2 separate regions of the Homo sapiens genome follow, and region 2 is linked to region 1. Evidence: promoter capture Hi-C in human tissues and cell types (Jung and others, 2019). All regions are on one chromosome and are shown on one strand. The core of a region is centred on a gene start or on the middle of the fragment in contact, and the rest is flanking DNA. Distances in the headings are between cores, read along the strand shown.

The links. The method cuts DNA at HindIII sites, captures the fragments that hold promoters and counts their contacts. A contact is called where the count stands out against the background at its distance.
Region 2: a fragment that was not itself captured here is called in contact with the fragment with the promoter of MROH9 in region 1 in 2 of the 25 tissues and cell types used here (aorta and hippocampus).

The regions. Positions count from the first base shown.
Region 1 is chr1:170,934,200-170,939,069 of GRCh38, forward strand. It overlaps MROH9 (maestro heat like repeat family member 9), which reads left to right and starts at 1,335. Exons shown (of 22, transcript NM_001163629.2): 1 at 1,335-1,388. The HindIII fragment of the contact is 10,538 bases long and covers 1-3,949 here.
Region 2 is chr1:170,520,855-170,525,450 of GRCh38, forward strand. The region is part of intron 1 of GORAB-AS1 (GORAB antisense RNA 1); the gene reads right to left. Among named protein-coding and RNA genes, the nearest start is that of GORAB, 9.0 kb to the right of the region's middle. The HindIII fragment of the contact is 7,437 bases long and covers 1-4,596 here.

The DNA of each region.
Region 1 (4,870 bases), core at 85-2,584:
CTGAGACAAGTGAATATCCAGATGCAAAAAATAAGATAAAATTAGACCTCTACCTCACACTATATACTAAAACTAATTCAGAATGAACCAAAGACCTAAATGTAAGGCAAAAACTACAAAACTCTTAGAAAAGTTCTAAATCTAATCTCTGTGAAGTTGGGCCAGGGAATGCAGGCAATGTCTTTTTCTTTTTTTTTAGTTATGATACCAAAAACACAAGCAATAAAAGAAAAAGAATGGCAAATTTAAATTTCACTTAAATTTAAAACTTTTGTGCTTCAAGAGACACTGTCAAGAAAATGTAAAGGCAGCCCATAGAAAAGGAGGAATATTTGCAAATTATGTATCTGATAAGAGACTAGCATCTAGAACATATTAAAAAATCACAACTCAGTAATAAAAATCCAAACAGTCTAATCATAAAAAGTCACATATTGTATAAATCTATTTACATAAAATGTCCAGAAGGCAGACAGAAGATTAGTGGTTGCCAGGTACTTGGGGGAGAGGGAGGGTGAATGTCTGCTAACAGGTACAGGGTTTCTTTGGAGCTTGTTCTAAATGAAAATGTTCTAAAATTAGATAGTAATGATGGTTGTATACCTCTGTAAATATATTTAAAATGATTGAATTATATACTTTAAGATAAATTTTATGGTATGTGAATTATATTTTAATAACTCTATTATAAAAAGTGCTACAATAAACATCCTTCATGTCTCTCAGTGCATCAGTTGTATACATGTTTATACACTCTATGGACCTAGAACTGGAAATTCTGGGTTGTAGATTTTCAGTTTTGCTAGAACTTGACAAGTTTCTCTACAAACTAGTTATATCCATTTATAATCCCACCAGTCGTGTGAGAAAGTTCAACTTTCTTTTATCTTTGCCAATATTTGAAATTATCTTTTTTTAATTTTTACTTGTATTTTAGTACTTTTTAACTTATTAGCTGGGAAATAATATTTTAATGGTTTGTATTTTCATAACTTCAAGTGAGATTAAAAATCTTTTAAAATATTTATTGGCCATTCAGTTTTCCTTTTCTGTGAATTTTCTATTCTTATCCTTTGCCCAGCTTCTACTGGACTGTTGGTCTGAAGAACTATCTTTCAGTGCTTGTAACATAGAAACCAGAAACTTACCCACCCCTCAATAATGACAGGTGAGCATTAGTAGCCACTTGGGCATGCCAGGACATTCTACCACATTCATTCCAGAATGGAATCTTTGAAACATATGGTTGCCATGACGAGTGTCAACATTTCAAAGAATTTGCTTGGTTGATAACTACCTAGAGTATTTTACCTTTGGCTAAGAGGTAATATACTAGAGTTTCTCTTCACTACTTTGTCTCACCGTGATTACAGAGAAGTTACAAATATGTAAGTGAATTCCTATTAATATTTCTGTCATTCAAAAGCTTGTCTTTTTTTCTAATCCTGACTACTTTTCTTAATTTTTGTTCTGTTAAGAAAAAGAACCATGAATACATTAGAAAATTACGTTATGGCCCAGGTATGGTGGCTCACACCTGTAATCCCAGCACTTTGGGAGGCTGTGGGCGGATCATGAGGTCAGGAGGTCGAGACCACCCTAGGCAACTTGGTGAAACCCCATCTCTACTAAAAATACAAAAATTAGCTGGGTGTGGTGGCGGGTGCCTGTAATCCCAGCTACTCAGGAGGCTGAGGCAGGAGAATCACTTGAACTCGGGAGGTGGAGGTTGCAGTGAGCCGAGATCATGCTACTGCACTCCAGCCTGGCAACAGAGTGAGACAAAAAAAAAAAAAAAAAAAAAAAAAAGAAAAGAAAAAGAAAATTACATTACTATGGGCCCTCATCCAGAAATCTTGCCAAAGTTGGCAATTGGAAGAATTTGTCTTTATTCATTAATCTCCTAACTTCATGCCTTACTAGTAAGGATTATCTTATTAGTAAGGATGAGAGAAACCACAACTATATAGATAAATATATTTATTATAAGGTATTGGTTTACACAATAATAGAAGCTAGGAAGTCCTGGATTCTGCTTTCTGCAAGACAGAGACCCAGGAGATCCAATGGTGCAGTTTGAAGGCCTGAGAGCAAGAGAGTTGATGATAAAAATTCCAGCCTGGTTCTGAGGATCTGAGAACCAGAGCACCGAGGGCAGCAGATTTGTGTCCCAAGTCAAGTAGTCAGGCAAAGAGAAAACTAAGCATTCTTCTGCCTTCTTGTTTTATTCAGGCCCTCAATGGATTGGAAGATGTTGACCCACATTAGGGAGTGTCATCTCCTATCATCAGAACACCAATTTAAATGCTAATCTCTTCTGGAAATACCCTCACAGACATACCCCAAAATAATGTTTACCAGATATCTGGGCATCCTATGGCTCACTCAGTTTGACACGTAATATTAACTAACCATAATGAGTTCCCACGTTGAAAATTTGGCACCCATATACATATCCTTAAGCCATAGTTAATCTCCAAATAAAGTCAATAAGAAGCTCATAATTCCATTTAACATGTTGAAATGTAGTGGGATTGATAAGGAATCAGAGAGACCGATGGGGTTGAGAAGGATATTTATTATTTAGGTGCACCGGCCCAGTTGGATTAACCTCCAAAGGACTGAGCCCTGAACAAAGAGTTATCTTTTAATCATTTCGTGGGGTGGGGGAGATCTGTGTAGGGGGAAGCATATTACAGAAGTGAGAAACAAAGACAGTTATTCAATTAATTGAAACATGCATTACATCATTTCTTACTTTTCAAGGAAAAACATGTTTTATGACTTGAGTTTATCTGTCTAGTGACCTTGCAGCTGCACAGCTAGAGAAACAGGGTCTTCACAATGCCTGGGAAAGGAGGAGAGATAAGGCTCACTAGCCACAGAAAAACAGGCAGTTAATTTTAAAGGACTCCAGCTCTTTCTCTTTCTCTGGGGAATTGGGTTTTCTTACATACAACTGAGTTTCTGCTTACACATTCTTTAATTTCTTTTAATTCCTGTTCCAACATATGTCCTGCATACAACTGAAAATGCACTAAACCCTTCTCAGAGGAGGAGATAAAGTCCTTCAGTGATGTTTACTCTCTTCCTTGATGTCCTGTAACTTAAACACTATGATGTAACATTAACAATACTTAAATACTAGAATATGAAGTCATTGCATTTTGTATTATGTGATAAGAGAATAAGAAAAGAAAAAATATTTGGTATCTAATATATACACAAAGAAATGTATTCAGAACAAAATTAAAAGGAAATACTCATAATTATTACAGTCTTCATTTCTGCACTGATCACAGCATCATAATCAGTATTTTTTTTTTTTTTTTTTTTTTTTGAGACGGAGTCTCGCTCTGTCGCCCAGGCTGGAGTGCAGTGGCGGGATCTCGGCTCACTGCAAGCTCCGCCTCCCGGGTTCACGCCATTCTCCTGCCTCAGCCTCCCAAGTAGCTGGGACTACAGGCGCCCGCCACTACGCCCGGCTAATTTTTTTTGTATTTTTAGTAGAGACGGGGTTTCACCGTTTTAGCCGGGATGGTCTCGATCTCCTGACCTCGTGATCCGCCCGCCTCGGCCTCCCAAAGTGCTGGGATTACAGGCGTGAGCCACCGCGCCCGGCCCATAATCAGTATTTTTAACTCCCTTTTTCTACTACACATTCTGTAGTTTCTTTGCCTTCAGTAAGCACCTCAGCTGCTTGTGGTTCTTTACCTGCTAAAGTGATCCATAAAGGTCTGGGTCACTAGTAGTCCTACCTGCACTGGGTGGTTGTAGTTTTCCATTGATCTTAATCACAGGACACAGTAATACTAAGAGACACACTAAGGGATCTTTTGTATTGCAGACATACTCTTCCTTGCCTCCATTATGGAATAGTAGCCCAAGTTCTCTTTGGTAGTGTGGATCAGTCAGTCCAACCAGCACCATAACTCCCTTCTTAGCCTGTTGACTCAGAAGCACAAGGAGACCAAGGTGGCCAGGTGGCAGTCTTAACTTCCAGTTCAGTGGAATTATTGTCGTGTCCCCTGATGGAAGAATTCTTCCCTCCAGAACTGAGATCTCTAAGCCAGCAGAGCATAATGCCACAAGAACAGGAAGCTAGTGGGACACTAAGGATAATAGTGAGTGGTGCAACTCTATTTTCACCCCTTGATCCCTAGACCCAGGAATCCTGGTTATAGGAGAAATAGCACTATAAATTGAACATATTCAGAGCATATTCAGTTTTCCGGAGAACCTTGCCCCAGCCCTTCCAGGTATTGACATCTAGCTGATGACGTAACTGAGTCTTCAAAAGGTCATTCCACCGTTCCATCAAACAAGTGGCTTTAGGATGGTGGGGAACATGGTAAGACTAGTGAATTCCATGAGCATAAGCCAATTGCCCCACTTCTTTGGCTGTGAAGTGAGTTCCTTGATCAGAAGCAATGCTGTGTGGAATAACATGATGGTGGATAAGGCATTCTATAAGTCCACAAATGGCAGTTTTGGCAGAAGCATTGCATACCTGGACGGCAAATCCATATCCAGGGTAAGTGTCTATTTCAGTAAGGACAAAATGCTTCCTCTTCTATGATGGACGCAGTCCAATGTAGTCAAGCTGCCACCAGGTAGCTGGCTGATCACTCTGGGCCACATCAAGGACTCAGTGTTTTTCTCTGCTACTGGCATATTGGCCACTCGGTAGTGGCCACAGCTAGGTTGTCCTTGACAAATAAAAGTCCATGTTGCTGGACCCATACATAATTTACATCCCTGACACTATGGCTACTTTGCTCATGAGCCTATTGGGTGATGACACTAGTGGCTGAAGAAATAGCCTAATTGGTACCTACAGAATGGGTCATCCTATCTGCTTGATTATTAA
Region 2 (4,596 bases), core at 1,369-3,868, 410 kb before region 1:
TCAAATGAAATGACTTCATTCAGTCAATTATTTCTGGAGAAAGCTGGCAGAATAATGTGGTAATTAAACTGAGGACTGATGGAAACTATTAAACAGGAGGGCTATTTTGCCTGGCAGTTCTAGTTAATGCTTTTTATGTGTTTTTGTTTTTTAAAAATGCTTGAAATACTAGTTCACTTAAATGGAATTGCCTCTTCATTGAAATACATATTTAAAATGTTCCAGTGAAGACAGCATAAGTAAAAGACAGGAGAAACTCAATTTTCTTGTATCTTCTGAGTCATCAGTATGATTTCCTTATTTTAGATGAAATCAAAATGCAACTGTATTCAAATGTAAGTAGAACATAACCATATCCCAAAGCCAGAACACAATATAGTCAAGACTCAATTGCCTGGGTGCTGGGTATTCACTTCAGTCTGAATATGCTGTCTACAGCGTATGTTTGCCCAGTCTAGTCTAGTCTCCCTTAGGCTCCTCTAGCTGGCCACCAGCTTGATTCATCCATCCATCCACTCATTCATTCAACAATATTCAGCCACCATCTCCAGCACTGTTTCTAGTTACCTGTAATGCAGCAGTAAAAAAAAAAAAAAAAAAAAAAGTACTTTCCCACATATCTCTCCTGCCTACCTAATAGTTATGCACTCAGGGACAGACAAAAGTTCTAACAAAAAAGAACAAATTGGAATCCGAAAGCTATTGGAAAAGATCTCTGAATGCTTCCCAAAGGAAAATGCAAGCTGTTAAATTACTTGTAGCTCTTCATTTTTAAGTGATTTACATACAAATAACCACCATTTTCCCAGTCTTTGATGAATGGATACAAAGGTTTAAAAAAGGGAAACTTTTAATCCATTGGTAATAGTCTGAGAATGGATTAAGAGAAATTGGCAAAAATTAAGAATAACTTAGGAAAACCAAGCCAGAAAATTCCAAGGTAGAGGGAAACTGGAAGAGTTAATAACTAAAAACAGCTTCTGCTACACTTCATAAATATTTCTCATTTTTCTTTGTTAGAATACATATTTCTATCATATATTTAATAGTATGTGATAAACAAGCATACTGAATAAATAAGCATATTCTTTTGAAAATGCAAATATCATGGGGATGTGGAGTTAAGGACCATTAGTCATCCACATTCTGCTCATATGAGCTACATAAACATTTAATGAAATGTTTGCCCAGTTCTTAGCAAGCTTAGAAGTAATATGAAAGTAGATAGTAGTAGTTAAAATTGTAAATTCTGAAGTTATACTGCTCAAGTATTCAAGAGCTAATATTTGAATTCTAGCTCTATGACTAACAAGCTGTGAAAGCTTGGACAACTAACTTAATCTCTTGGTGCCTCAGTTTCCTCATCTACAAAATGGAATAATAGTTGAAACTTTGCTGGGACTTGCCCTTTTGACAAAAACAGAGTAAGTAACAGGGACTTAATTTATGTTTCCTTCTAAACCCAAAATAAACAAATAAATAGAATAACAATAGTTTTCAAGAGACAGGATATCAGGCAACCAAGGACAGTGATCTCTAAGAGATGAGAAAAAAATTGAGGCAAGACCTATGATTTCCCCAGTTGACTGCCTTGAGAGTCCTCAGGCCACAGCATGTGGCAGGGGAGGGACTGGACAAATCCTAGAGGACTCCTACTTGAGGAGGTGAAGCTCAGACTGCAAGAAGAGCAAGGAAACTAGAATTTGTATGACGAGGTATCAGAAAGGAGTGAGCTGCATAGAAGAAGAATCATGGAGACCAGCAGACAGTCTCCCTCAAGGTGATCAGCACATATAAGTGAGGAAACTACATGAGCCAGAAGCTATGATTTGACTGTTTGTCCCTTCCAAAACACATGTTAAAATTTAATTGCCAACAAAATGGTTTTGGAAGGTACAGCCTTTAAGAGGCGATTATGTCACAAGGGCTCCATCTGCATGGGCGGGTTTAATGCCTTTATAAAAGGGCTTCCAGGAGTGGGTTCTCCCTTGCTTGGCCCTTCCACTCTTCTATCATGTGAGGAACAGTTTTTCTCCCCTTCAAAGGACGTCATGTTTAACAGCCATCTTGGAAGTGAACACCAGGCCATTACCAACACCAAACCTGTTGGCACCTTGACCTTATATTTCCCAGCCTCCAGAACTGTGAAATAAATTTCTATTATTTATAAATTACCCAGTCTGTAGTATTCTGATATGGCAGCACAAAATGGGATAAAACACCAGGGAAAGAACTATGCAAAAACACCAGACCAGGCATAGTGCCTGTTCCCATCAATCAGACTGGAAACCTTTACAATTCCCAGAGCATTTGGTAGAGTATTCAGAAGATTCTTGCATTAGTAGCAGGAAATAATTAGTCCCTGACTAATCATTGAATAATTAGTCCTTGACTAACCATTGCTTTGGTTATGTCACAAATTCCAAAATCAAGGCTCAAAAAGATAAGCCTATTTTCAAGTAACTTAAGTGTATCTCAGAACAAAGCTCAAAAATATTTATAGGAAAAGAAAAATAGCTAGCACCCAACAAGGTAAAACTGACAATGTCTTGAACCAAACAAAAGATTACCAGTCATGCAAAGAAGTAGGAAAATAAAAATAATGAGTAAAAAGATTAATCAATTGAAACTTACCTAGAACTAACATAGTTATTAGAATCAGCAGACATGGATATTAATATTTGTCATTCCTGTATTCCATATGTTGAAAAGATATAAAAATACCTTAAATAATCAAAGATATAAAAACTATCTAAATTGAATATCTTGAGATGAGAACTACAACGTCTGTAATAAAAAAATATACTAGATTCAATTAATAAAAGATTAGACATTAGAGAAAAAATTATTAAAAATATTAGTGAACTTAAAGATGTAGCAATAGAAACTATACAAAATGAAGTAAAGAGAGAGAAAAAGATGTTAAAAATGAAATGACCATCAGTGAGCTACAGGAAAACTTCAAGTAGCTAACATGTAATGGAAGCCCCAAAAGAAGAGGAAAAAGGAAGGGAGAACAATAATATATTTAAGGAAATAATGGTCAGAAAACTTTCAAATTTGATGAAAACTATAAACCCAGACATTCAAGTATCTCAAAGAACCCGAAGTACAAAAAGAAAGAATGAAAGAAAGAAGAGAAAAAGAAAGAAAGAAAGAGAAAAGGAAAGAAAGACAAAGAGAGAAAAAAAGGAAGACAGAAAGAGAAAGAAAAAGAAGAAAAAAAAAAAAGAAAGCAAGGAAGCTACACACTATACCATGGTACATCATATTCAAATTGATCAAAAACAGTGATAAAGTAAAAATCTTAAAAGACAGAGAAAAAACACCCATTATGTAAGGAGCAAAGGTGATGATACAAATTTCTCATCAGAAACAATGCAAACTAGAAGAGTGGAAGAGAATAAAGTAATTTTTTAAAAAAAGTTAAACTAGAATTTTATGTCTAGTGAAATGTCTTTCGAAAACTAAGGCAAAATAAAGACTTTTCCTACAGATGAAAGCTGAAAGAATTAATCAGCAGCAGACCTACACTGTAAGAAATACTAAAAAAGAAAAAAAAAAAAAAAGCCCATCAGGTAGAATGAAAATGATGCCTGGTGGAAATATGAATCTACACAAAGAAGTGAAGAACACAGGAAATTTTATCTACATGTGTAAATATATATTTTTATTTAAATCTGTTTAAAAGTTAACTTACTATTTTAGCAAAAATGATAACATTGCAGTGTGGATTTTAAGACATACGTATAAATGAAAGGTATGAAACAATAGCATAAAGGCCAGGAGAGAAAAAGCAGAGGTGTATATTTATAAGGTTCTTATAGTACATGTGGTATGATACTACCTGAAGATAGACTATGATAAGTTAAAAATACATACCAAACCCTAGAGCAATTACTAAAATAACAAAACAAAGAATATAGCTAATAAGTTTATAAAGGAAATAGATACAGTCATTAGAAAAAGGAAAGAGGAAAAAGATATACCAAGGCTAATATTTAGCAAAAGAAAGTTACAGTGGCTATATTAATATCAGATAAAGTAGATTTCAGACCAAAATTAGGGGGAAGAAAAAGATCATTTCATTATGATAAATGAGTCTAAGAATCAAGAAGACATACAAACACAAACATTTATTCACCTGTTATTATTATAACAGAGTTTCAAGATACATGAAACAAAACTGAGATAACTGCAAGGATTAATGAACAAATCTACAGTTATAATAGGATATTTCTCATCTCTCAATAAATAATAGTACAAGGAGTCAGAAAATGAGTAAGGCTATAGAGGACTTAAAAACCTAATCTTGGGAGGCTGAGGCAGGCAGATCACCTGAGGTCGGGGGTTCAAGACCAACCTCACCAACATGGAGAAACCCCGTCTCTACTAAAAATACAAAAATTAGCTGGGCGTGGTGGTGCATGCCTGTAATCCCAGCTACTCAGGAGGCTGAGGCAGGAGAATCACTTGAACCTGGGAGGCAGAGGTTGCAGTGAGCTGAGATCATGCCATTGCACTCCAGCCTGGGCAACAAGAGCGAAACTCCAAAAAAAAAAAAAAAATTAAAGGGAAACTATATTATGAGACATT